Linked DNA regions of Homo sapiens: region 1 is linked to region 2. The links are contacts of gene promoters, found by promoter capture Hi-C in blood cells and fetal thymus (Javierre and others, 2016). All regions are on one chromosome and are shown on one strand. Each heading gives the region's core, a stretch centred on a gene start or on the middle of the fragment in contact. The rest is flanking DNA. Distances are from core to core; before and after follow the strand shown. Region 1 overlaps C7orf33 (chromosome 7 open reading frame 33). Region 2 holds the start of EZH2 (enhancer of zeste 2 polycomb repressive complex 2 subunit).

Evidence for each region. Contacts are between HindIII fragments. The CHiCAGO score rates a contact against its expected background, and 5 or more counts as called.
Region 1: a fragment that was not itself captured here is called in contact with the fragment with the promoter of EZH2 in region 2 in 1 of 17 cell types (activated CD4 T cells); the score reaches 6.4 in activated CD4 T cells.

What each region holds. Positions count from the first base shown.
Region 1 is chr7:148,611,380-148,616,792 of GRCh38, reverse strand. C7orf33 (chromosome 7 open reading frame 33) reads right to left here. Exons shown (of 3, transcript NM_145304.4): 2 at 2,497-2,751; 3 at 933-1,466. The coding sequence ends at 1,392. Among named protein-coding and RNA genes, the nearest start is that of C7orf33, 23 kb to the right of the region's middle. RefSeq lists enhancers at 4,602-5,102, 5,103-5,413. The HindIII fragment of the contact is 6,964 bases long and covers 67-5,413 here.
Region 2 is chr7:148,880,556-148,885,792 of GRCh38, reverse strand. EZH2 (enhancer of zeste 2 polycomb repressive complex 2 subunit) reads left to right here and starts at 1,502. Exons shown (of 20, transcript NM_004456.5): 1 at 1,502-1,629. It overlaps LOC124901767 (a long non-coding RNA gene), which reads right to left and starts at 604. Exons shown (of 2, transcript XR_007060579.1): 1 at 310-604. RefSeq lists silencers at 869-1,098, 1,219-1,588, 1,749-2,338 and an enhancer at 1,557-2,248. The HindIII fragment of the contact is 14,290 bases long and covers 1-5,237 here.

The DNA of each region.
Region 1 (5,413 bases), core at 2,299-4,798, 270 kb after region 2:
TGCCCTCTCTCTCCTGTCGCCTTGTGAAGAAGGTCCCTGCTTCCCCTTCCGCCACGACTGTAAGCTTCCTGAGGCCTCCCCAGCCATGCGGAACTGTGAGAGTCAATTAAACCTCTTTCCTTTATAAATTACCCAGTCTTGGGGATTTCTTTGTAGCAGTGTGAGAACAGACTAATACAATTGTTATCAGTTGAATTGTCTCCCCAAAATTCATATACTGAAGTCCTGACCCCTAGAACCTCAGAATGCAACTGTATTTGGAGATAGGGCCTTTAAAAAGGTAATTAAGTTAACATGAGGTCATTTGAGTAGACCCTAATCCAGTGTGACTGGTGTCTTCATATGAAGAAGAGATTAGGACACAGACATGCACAGAGGGACGACCATGTGAGGACGCAGGGAGAATGGCCTTATACAAGTCAAAGAGCCTCAGAAGGCTCTGCCCATGCCCTGGTCTCTGATTTCTATCCTTCAGAACTGTGAGGATATGTGCCTCTGTTGGTTAAGCCCGTCCCCCAACCCCGCTCTGTGGTACCTTGCTAGGGAACCCTTGCTGACAAACACAATATTATCACAGAGTAAAGAAGCGGCCAAACTGCATTTCAAACTGGTAGGATTTCCCCTCCTGCACACTCAATATGGTGGTTTCCAAATGATTTGAGGTCAGGAGTTCGAGACCAGCCTGGCCAACATAGTGAAACCCCATCTCCACTAAAAATACAAAAATTAGCTGGACGTGGTGGCAGGCACCTGTAATCTCAGCTACTCGGGAGGCTGAGGCAGGAGAATCGCTTGAACCCGGGAGGCAGAGGTTGCAGGGAGCCGAGATCGCACCATTGCACTCCAGCCTGGGCGACAAGAGTGAAACTCCATCTAGAAAAAACCCCAGAAAACATAAAAGAATTGAGAAGAATGAAATCCACACAATGAGATAAGTTTCATCGCGAGTTTTACTGAATGCATGTTTTACTTAGACATACCAGATATTACAAATAATATCATAAATGACAGTGTGTTTCAGTTGTAAACTCTAGAGTCTCATCATCGGGAGCACACAGCAGACAATGGTCAGGGAAACATCTCTATCCAGGTCCTCTGGGGATCTTCGTCTCCCTTTAGAACCTGGTGGCTTGTCACTCCGTGGTCCTCTCCTGGGCCCCACACCAGTGCACAAATGCCACACAGATTCCTGCAGGTACACGTGGAACTTGGGCTCATGATCAAAGAGAATTCTCAGCCTGTCTGCTGGTGTTCAAAGTTCAGACTTCAGATTACCAAGTTTTCATCAACTGTTATTTCCAGAACTTCAGCTATTTCTCTTTTTTCTTGCAAGAAGAGATTTCACAATCTACACAAATTTAGAGATGTGACTCTTAGATTCTGCAAAATTCTTAACTGCTGTCAGTTCTGGAAATCCTTGTGGCCTCAACAGAATTCTGGAGCTTTCTTACTTCATGCCCACGTACCTACATGTGGATTACGAAGACTTCTGTTATCTCAGGATGATTTACCTTTTCCCTAGAACATCAATAGCACAGTTTAAAACACTGTCTCAGCCTGGCATGGTGGCTCATGCCTGTAATCCCAGCACTTTGAGAGGCCAAGGTGGGTGGATCGCTTGAGCCCAGGAGTTTGAGACCAGCCTGGGCAGCATGGCAAAACCCCTTCTCTACCAAAAATATAAAAATTAGCCAGTCTTATAACCTGGTCTCAAAATAAGTAAATAGATAAAAATTTTAAAAAGTATTAAAAAAAATCGCTATCTCTACCAGCTCCCACCAGTTCCTAACAAAATCAATTTCACTTACTTCATCTTCCTATTTATTAATGCTCAACCTATTTGCTTAGAACTTTAGCATTTTCCATGCAACTTTTCATTTATGTCAAAGATTTAAAGTGATACAGGCAACAATAATTTTAGAGAAATCTCATTGCTTTATTACTACTAACAGTATTTAAAATTTTTAGGCTGAAGTTTAAAAATCCTTACTATTGATGGATTACTTTTTAAGTTAGGAGTTCCTTTATAGATACTGTGGTTTGAGGCACCAATTTCATGGAACTTTATGTGCTGAGTGGTTGTACGGGCTCACGTAGGACCGAAGCCATAGCTTCCTGTAGAGACTCCATCTGCAAGTACAATGCCAGCTCCGAAATGGCATTTGCACGAAGAATTCCCATACAGGATCCCCTTTAGTGAGCTCTTATTTTGTTAAAGTTGCCTTATGTTCTCTTAATAACATTAGTTATCATTAATACAAGGGAGAAGGTGCTTTCAGAGCATCTTGGTAAGGGGCACTTTCTTTTATCTTAACATAAATCAAGTTGGCAAAAAAGCATGGGATCAGATCAGTTTCATGCTGGACATTCAGAGAATATGAAACATCCAGGCATGCAAGAATGCAACAATCCCTCCAATCTTCATTTTCATGGAAGTTTCAGAGCATCCCGTGGGTTTCCTTAAACTTGGAGGTGCTAAGACACTTCGGAGCTTACGTTTAGGTATGAACTTGTCACTGTCCTCCCAGGCTTGTAAGAGAGAGTTAGCAGATCTAGGTAACTGGAAGACAAGGTGCCGACAACTGGATCTGAGGACAAGCCCATCCTGGTGCCTGGCCTGATTCTGACTGCTCTCTGGGCATCCGTGGGACCTTGAGAAAGAAAATGCCACGGGGCACCAGATTTGGTGGGAGCTGATACAGGAGCAATAAATTCCATCCCCCGGTTCATGTTTTGGTGTGGGTTTGGCTTCTGGAAAAAACAAACAAACAAACAAATTGGGTTAAAGGGTGGAAAGATGGTGATCAGTAAGCTACTAATTTGTTCTCACATTTCTTTTGAGGCTACTAAGTAGCTGTCAGACACATGAAATAGCCTAAAGATTATAGACAAAGATATTCTGGAAATTTTGGCAACATTTGCTTTTAGAATTAGTTGGTTCCAAAATTTTAAAACACACCATTTTAATTTTTATTAGCTTTATCATTCACAGGTAATACACCAATTCAAGGTTTACAGTGGTTATCAGTATATTCAAGGAAATGTGCAACCGTCACCACTGTCAATTTTAGAACTTTTTCATCATCCCCCAAAGAAATCCTGTACCCATTAGCGGTCACTCCCCATTTCTCCCTAAGTCTCCCCAGGCAACCACTAATCTACGTTCTACCTCTATGGATTTGCCAATCTGGACATTTCACATAAATAGAATCAAACATGTAGTATTTTGTAACTGAATTCTTTCACTTAGCGTGATGTTTTCAAGGTCCGACTATGTTGTAGCATGAATCGGAACTTCATTCCTTTTAATTGCCCAGTAATAGTTTATTATATAGGTAGACCACGAATTATTTATCCATTCATCATTTGGTGGACATTTGGGTTGTTTCCATTTTTTGAGTATTATGAATAATGCTGCTATGCACGTTATTTGTGTACAGAGCTTTTGTGTGGACACATATTTTCACTTTCTTGAGTATATACCTAGAAGTAGAATTGCTGGGTCATTATGTTAAGTGAAATCAATCAGGCACAGAAAGATAAATACCACATGTTCCCTTTATATGTGGAAGCTAAAAAGAAAACTTGAGCCCATGGAAATAGAGAGTGGAACAGTGAGTCTTAGGGTCTGGGAAGAGTGGTGAGGAGGAGACTCCAGGGAGAGGCTGGTTAATGGATACGAAATGACAGCTAGATAGAAGAAATGAGTTCTGCTGTTCTGTAGCACAGTAGGGTGAAGATGGTTAACTGTAATTTATTCTATATTCTCAAAAAACTAGAAGAGAGGGTTTTGAATGTTTATGGCACAAGAAAATGATAAATATTTTAGGTGATGATATACTGATTACCCTGATTTGATCATTACACATTGTATACATGTATGGAAATATCATTCTGTATCACATAAATATTATGTGCCAACTAAAAATAAAAGGGAAAAGATCTAGTATGTGTTTAATATTTTGAGGAAGTGTCAAAGTGGCTGGCACCATCCTGTATTCCCACTGGCAATGCATGAGGGTGTCAATTTCTCCACATCCTCACCAGCCAGCACGTGTTATTACTTGCCTTTTTAGTTATAGCCATCCTAGTGGGGATGAAGTGGTTTTAATTCTGGCTTTGATTTGCATATCTCAAATGGCTAATGATGTTGAGTATCTCTTCATGTACACATTGGCTATTTGTAATCTTTTCTGGAGACATATCTGTTCATATTCTTTGCCCATTAAAAACATTGGGTTATTTATTGAGTTGTAAGAATTCTATATTTTGGATATAAGTCCCTCATCAGATATGATTTGCAAATATTTTCTCCCATTCTGCAGGTTGCTTTACACTTTGTCGATAATACATTTTATAGCATAAAAGATTTTAATTTTGATGAAGTCCAATTTCTCTATTTTTTCTTTTGTCATTTGTATAGTTCCAACATTTTGAAAGAAATATCTAGCTCTTCAAGGTAGAGATGAAAGAGTTTCAACTTATAGATCTGATGGGAAGTTCATTATTAATGCCACACTTAGAAGATGAGGAAATAAGATACTTAGAACCAAGAAATAAGAAAACAGCAATGGAAATTAAAAAAAAAATCACTGGCTAACTTCAGTTGACTACAAAGATCTCTGTCAGTCATGGTCCAGGCCAGAAGCAGGTGGAATATTCAGAAGGTCTGACTGGGGAGAATTTAATCAAGCGCCTTTTCTATAGAGGCACTGATAGTGCAAGGAAACCAGGCATTATAATGAAGCCCCCAGGGCTGGCAATGCTGCAAGGTTGCTATTCCAGTGTGGTGGACAGGGAGGGAGCAGGTACTGAAAGCTAGTGAAATGGGAGCGTTCCCTGATTCCCCCTGCAGCACATGCAACACAGGTGTGGCTCACCTGCTTGGTTGCCCTGCAGCTCAAACCCCTAGGGGGAGCATGCAGACTGGCAGGTGCAGATGCCGGGATGAATGCTTTGGGCTCTTGGCCCCGCAGCAATGTCTAGGGGTGGGTGTCTGCAACTCCCAAAGCCCAGGTGGGCACGTGTAACCCAAGCTCTTTCAGATTTGCCATCTGCAGATGGCTTGTGTGCTAATCAGCTCAATGGACCCTCTGCCTTATTGCAAGGGCAGAGGGCCAGTGTGACAGCCTCTGTTCCCTGAGCTCTGGCCCAGTGTCCCAGAAGAATCGGATCACACATGGGCTCGAAGGATAAGTGCAAGTTTTTATTGAGTGATGGAGGCGGCACTCAGCAACATGGATGGGGAGCCGGAAGTTGAAGGGGTGGGGGAAATAATCTTTCCCTGGAGTTGGGCTGCCCAGCAGCCGGACCCTTCTCCAACCACCCCTGGCCGACCTTCCCTCGGCATCAAGACGTCCCTCTTTTTCTTCTCTGCTGCATCGTTCTGCTGTCACTGGTCTGCTGGTCTCGA
Region 2 (5,237 bases), core at 253-2,752:
TTTTTTTTTTTTTTGAGATGGAGTCTCGCTCTGTCGCCCAGGCTGGAGTGCAGTGGCGTGATCTCGGCTCACTGCAAGCTCCGCCTCCCGGGTTCACGCCATTCTCCTGCCTCAGCCTCCCGAGTAGCTGGGACTACAGGCGCCCGCCACCACGCCCGGCTAATTTTTTGTATTTTTAGTAGAGACGGGGTTTCACCGTTATTAGCCAGGATGGTCTCGATCTCCTGACCTTATGATCCGCCCGCCTCGGCCTCCCAAAGTGCTGGGATTACAGGCGTGAGCCACCGCGCCTTGCAAATATCCTCACACTTTGCAGAGGCGGCAAGTGAACAGTGCTCATCTTGATAAAGGATTTTTAACACTGACACGTGCTTAGAACTACGAACAGTGGAAGGGTCTGAAATGGCAGCAATGTCGCCCTTTCACAGGTTTCTAGGGCGATAAGCACTGCAAGCTCGGCCAGCCAAAGTCCAGCGGTGGGGGAAAAAACGGCCAAGGCAGCAGCAGACATAATCAAACAGGGCCCGGGTCGGCGGCGGTGGCTCACGCCTGTAATCCCAGCACTTTGGGAGGCCGAGGCGGGCGGATCACCAGAAGTCGGGAGTTCGAGACCAGCCTGACCAAGACCCGTCTCTACTAAAAATAGAAAATTAGCCGGGCGTGGTGGCGCATGCCTGTAATCCAGCTACTCGGGAGGCTGAGGCATGAGAATCGCTTGAACCCGGAAGGCGGAGGTTGCGGTGAGTCGAGATCGCGCCATTGCACTCCAGCCTGGACAACCAGAGCGAAACTCCGTCTCAGGAGAAAAAAAAAAAAGTAGTAACGGGTCCGGCGGCAGCGCGCGGGCCGGGCGAGCGTCTCCCGGCAAACGCGGCGCCACAGCTGAGCCGACCTCCGGGGCCCGCGCCCTCCCCTCCCCGGGCACCACTAGGAGCGGCCAGCCCGGGCCTCGGCTCCGCGCGCGGGGAAACGAGCGCGGCGGTTAAAACCGTTACCACCCCCGAGTTTTGAACTGGTTCAAACTTGGCTTCCAGCACCCGCCCCGCCCCTCCCCCGCCCGGGAACTCTGCGGCGCCGGTTCCCGCCAAGAGCCGCCGGCGCTTCGTCCCGCCCTTCGGCCGGTTCCCGCCACCTATCCTCCCCGCCTCCCGTCCGCGGCGGGCTCCGGGCCCCCGCGATGTCTCCCGGTCCCCGCGTGCCTGCACACCGCCTTCCTGAGAGGCGCCGTGTGTTCAGCGAAAGAACAAAGAGACGGCGGCGGCGCTTCCACACGGCCAGTGGCGTCCCTTACAGCGAACCCCGCCGCCGCCCGCGCGCGCACGCGCTGCCAGTGCCCGCCCGCCCACGAGCCCTGAGCGCACTCTGCGTGGGGCTGGCTCGGCGCCTCCGAGCCCGGCGGGCCCTGTGATTGGACGGGCGCCCGCCTCGCGTCCCGCCAATCGGGGCGGCGCTTGATTGGGCTGGGGGGGCCAAATAAAAGCGATGGCGATTGGGCTGCCGCGTTTGGCGCTCGGTCCGGTCGCGTCCGACACCCGGTGGGACTCAGAAGGCAGTGGAGCCCCGGCGGCGGCGGCGGCGGCGCGCGGGGGCGACGCGCGGGAACAACGCGAGTCGGCGCGCGGGACGAAGGTAACGCGCCGCTGCGGGCGGCCCGGCCGGCGGGGCTCCGGGAGTGCGAACCGGGCGGCGGCGGCGGCGCCAGGACCTCCCCGCCACTGCTGTGCCGGTCCCGGGTATCGCCGAGCGGGGCTCACCGGGGCGCCGCGTTTGTAGGCGTGCGGGGGGTGGAGGGTGAGGGGAGAGCCCCCCTCCCCGGAAGGAGCTGTGAGCTTCGGGCTGGCCCGCGGGACCCTGCGAGTGAGGCAGCGCACACCCCTGGAGCTGCGGGGCGGGGGGCGTGTGGGGGGCTCCTTTCCCGGTGCTTGTCCTGGCCGGGGCGCCGGGGCCGGGGTCGGGGCGTTCCGGTGCCCGGTCCAGGGTGGCAGCTCGAGCCTCAAGTCTCCTTTGTGTGGCGCGGCCGCGGCGGGAGCGCCCGGGTGGGACGGGACAGACACAAGTTGGTGGGACCCAGCCGCCGAGTCCGCACTCAGACAAAGGACGGACTGTGTCTCCGGAGGGCTCGGCGCGAGGGGAAGGGGCATGACACCCGGGCCCGCCGGCGGGCGGGAGAGGGGCGTGGGGAGGCGCGGGCCGCTGCCGGGGTGGGCAGGGCTCGGCCCTCGCCTCGCGCACGCCCCCGGTCCCGGGCGCGCCGACCCCGGGCTGGGGCCGCGGCGCTCGCGGGACGACGTTCGCGGCGGGGAACTCGGAGTAGCTTCGCCTCTGACGTTTCCCCACGACGCACCCCGAAATCCCCCTGAGCTCCGGCGGTCGCGGGCTGCCCTCGCCGCCTGGTCTGGCTTTATGCTAAGTTTGAGGGAAGAGTCGAGCTGCTCTGCTCTCTATTGATTGTGTTTCTGGAGGGCGTCCTGTTGAATTCCCACTTCATTGTGTACATCCCCTTCCGTTCCCCCCAAAAATCTGTGCCACAGGGTTACTTTTTGAAAGCGGGAGGAATCGAGAAGCACGATCTTTTGGAAAACTTGGTGAACGCCTAGTGAGTTGCCACTTTCTAAAGAATCGTAATCCTTAAACATTACAAGCTGTTTTGGCCAACTTGTGTGATACATCTGAGAATGGCGACAGGTGCTAACGAAATCAACTGTCATTCAGCCAGATTATTCCCCAAATCCCGACGGGTTGAATGAGGATGAGGTGGTAGAAGTAGGTGATCAAAATAGAATGGCTATGACAAATGTGTGTTTAGATTATACGGTTAGCAGTTTCTTATTAATTGGTCTCGTTTTCTGTGAACAATAGCTTTGGTGATTCAGAAAAGACTGCATGGAGAAATGTTTGTTGCCTAAGAAATTTAACGTGTGCTGTCCACAGTTAAACTTCCTTTATCACACAGGATCTGTAACATTTAAATTCATTTGGAAATAAAAATGTGTCTTTGCTATTTACTTAAAGGCTTGCTTTTTAGGGTTCAAGCAAGTTATTATTAGTTTAATTTTGTGGCGTTTTGATGTCATCATAAAACAGCATTTAATAAACCTTTGAAAAACACGAATGCTGTCACAATTGAATGTAGTTTATACTTTTAGGGGTTTTGGAGTTTATTTTCTATTACTCTTCATAAGCATTAGCAACTAATTCATGTTTAGGAATACTGTACAAGTGTGTAATCCTAACTTGTTTATTTGTAATTTTATTTGCAGGAAAACAAGTATTTAAGATATATTTTAATTTTCTATTCATGGTCTCTAAAGTTAGGAATAGGTAGGATTCTAGTCATAGATATAAAGCGTCTTGTTCTCTCTTTTCGGAGGTGTGTTGGGTGATGTAATATTTAAGGTTTCCCGGAAACAGGAACACTGCATCTTAAATTCTCGTTTTTGTGGAAAGTGAATATATTCCAAGAAAACAAGTTAGAAAAACATAGGCGTTCTTCTGGTTGCACTGTCCTATATGATAAAGATCTAATGTGCATCTGCTAACTTAAGGTTTCATAAAAATGGAGACAAATAAATGCAATATAAATTTATTACATATATTTTGGAGAGTGTTGACACCACTGTACGGGCATTCCAGGTGCTGGTCTAAGTGTTGAGACATTATAACAAAAAAGTAACGTTTATATTAGTTACTATTAATTCTGTATTTAAAAAATCCTATTAATAATCTTGTCCATTATGAGATAAGGTAGTTATGCAGATTTTTGGCAGAAATTCGGATATTTTAGGATACATATGTGTGTGTGTGTGTGTGTGTGTGTGTGCGCGCGCGTGTGTGTGTGTGTATATGTTTTTTTTTTTTTGAGACAGAGCCTTGCTCTGTCGTCCAGGCTGGAGTGCAGTGGCTGGATCTGGGCTCACTACAATCTCTGCCTCCCGGGTTTAAGGAATTCCCCTGCCTCAGCCTCCCGAGTAGCTGGAACTACAGGCACGCACCACGACACCCGGCTAATTTTTGTATTTTTAGCAGAGACAGGGTTTCACCATGTTGGCCAGGCTGGTCTCGAACTCCTGACCTGAAGTGATGTACCCGCCTCCGCCTCCCAAAATGCTGATCCAGACGTGAGCCACCACGCCCAGCCTAGGATAAAAATTTCTAACTTTGCCCTTGAGTGTTCTCTGTATTTGATAATTACTATTCTTTGTACTTGCCATGAGATATTTTGAAAAACATCTCTTTGGGGAATTGGTTTAAAAATTCATATTAAATTATTTTCTGGTACAATTGAGAATGTATTTAGTCAGTTTAAGTAGCAGTGACTTAAAACACACTTGTTGATCTAGTGTAGTTAGAAAAAGTTCTGATACTTTGATACCTAGCTTTGCCTTGCACAAATACATTTAAGTGAATATCTTTATGTTGGCCATTTAAAAATTTTAGGCAAATTTCTCCAAGTCATACTGGAATTTTCCCAGGATACCTTCCTTCTTTTGAGGTAGTGTGCTCAAGGATTCTGAATTTATTTCAGTATTACCCTTTACATGAGCAGTGATTGAGAAAGTTGATCTGCTTTTTAAAAACCAACAAGGACAAATCCTCCAATATAATGTATTCTGTGGTTAATTAGCAATGATTTATGGATTAGCCTTGAAGTCTTTATATCAGTATAGATGACAAATTTTCTGTAAATCATGATAGATTCTATATGAGTAGGTGAAATCTTCGGGGGAGAGCATAAGTGAACAGCAGCAATTCATTAAATTCAGAGAAAGGTTCATGGTCAGATGATACATACTTTACCTTCTGGAGGTCTTCCCTGAATTCCCACTCTTGTGTTCCCACAGGGTTTTATCATATTTTATTGTAGCATGACTCAATTGTATTGTAATCACTTGTTTATGCATCCCTCTCTTCCCTACAGTCAAAGTGCCTCCTGGTAGAGGCTCTGTCTTATTTTTTTCTTTGTATACCTAGTACCTACGTTGGTATTTGCTAGAGAATAGGGGTTTTAAATATAGTTGAATGAATTAAGGAAATATGAAAAATGTAGGGAAATAATTTGACAAAGGAACTTGCAAAGTGAACAGGATATGTTAGTATTCATGTGAGGAACTTTGAAATGTGTTTTTCTCCCTCTTTAATAGGGAATGATTACAAAGAAAAATAGTTGTCAAGGTGAACAAGTTCCAAGTTTTTCCTAGTTATAATCTGTAGTACTAAACATTAGATATCCTTTAGAT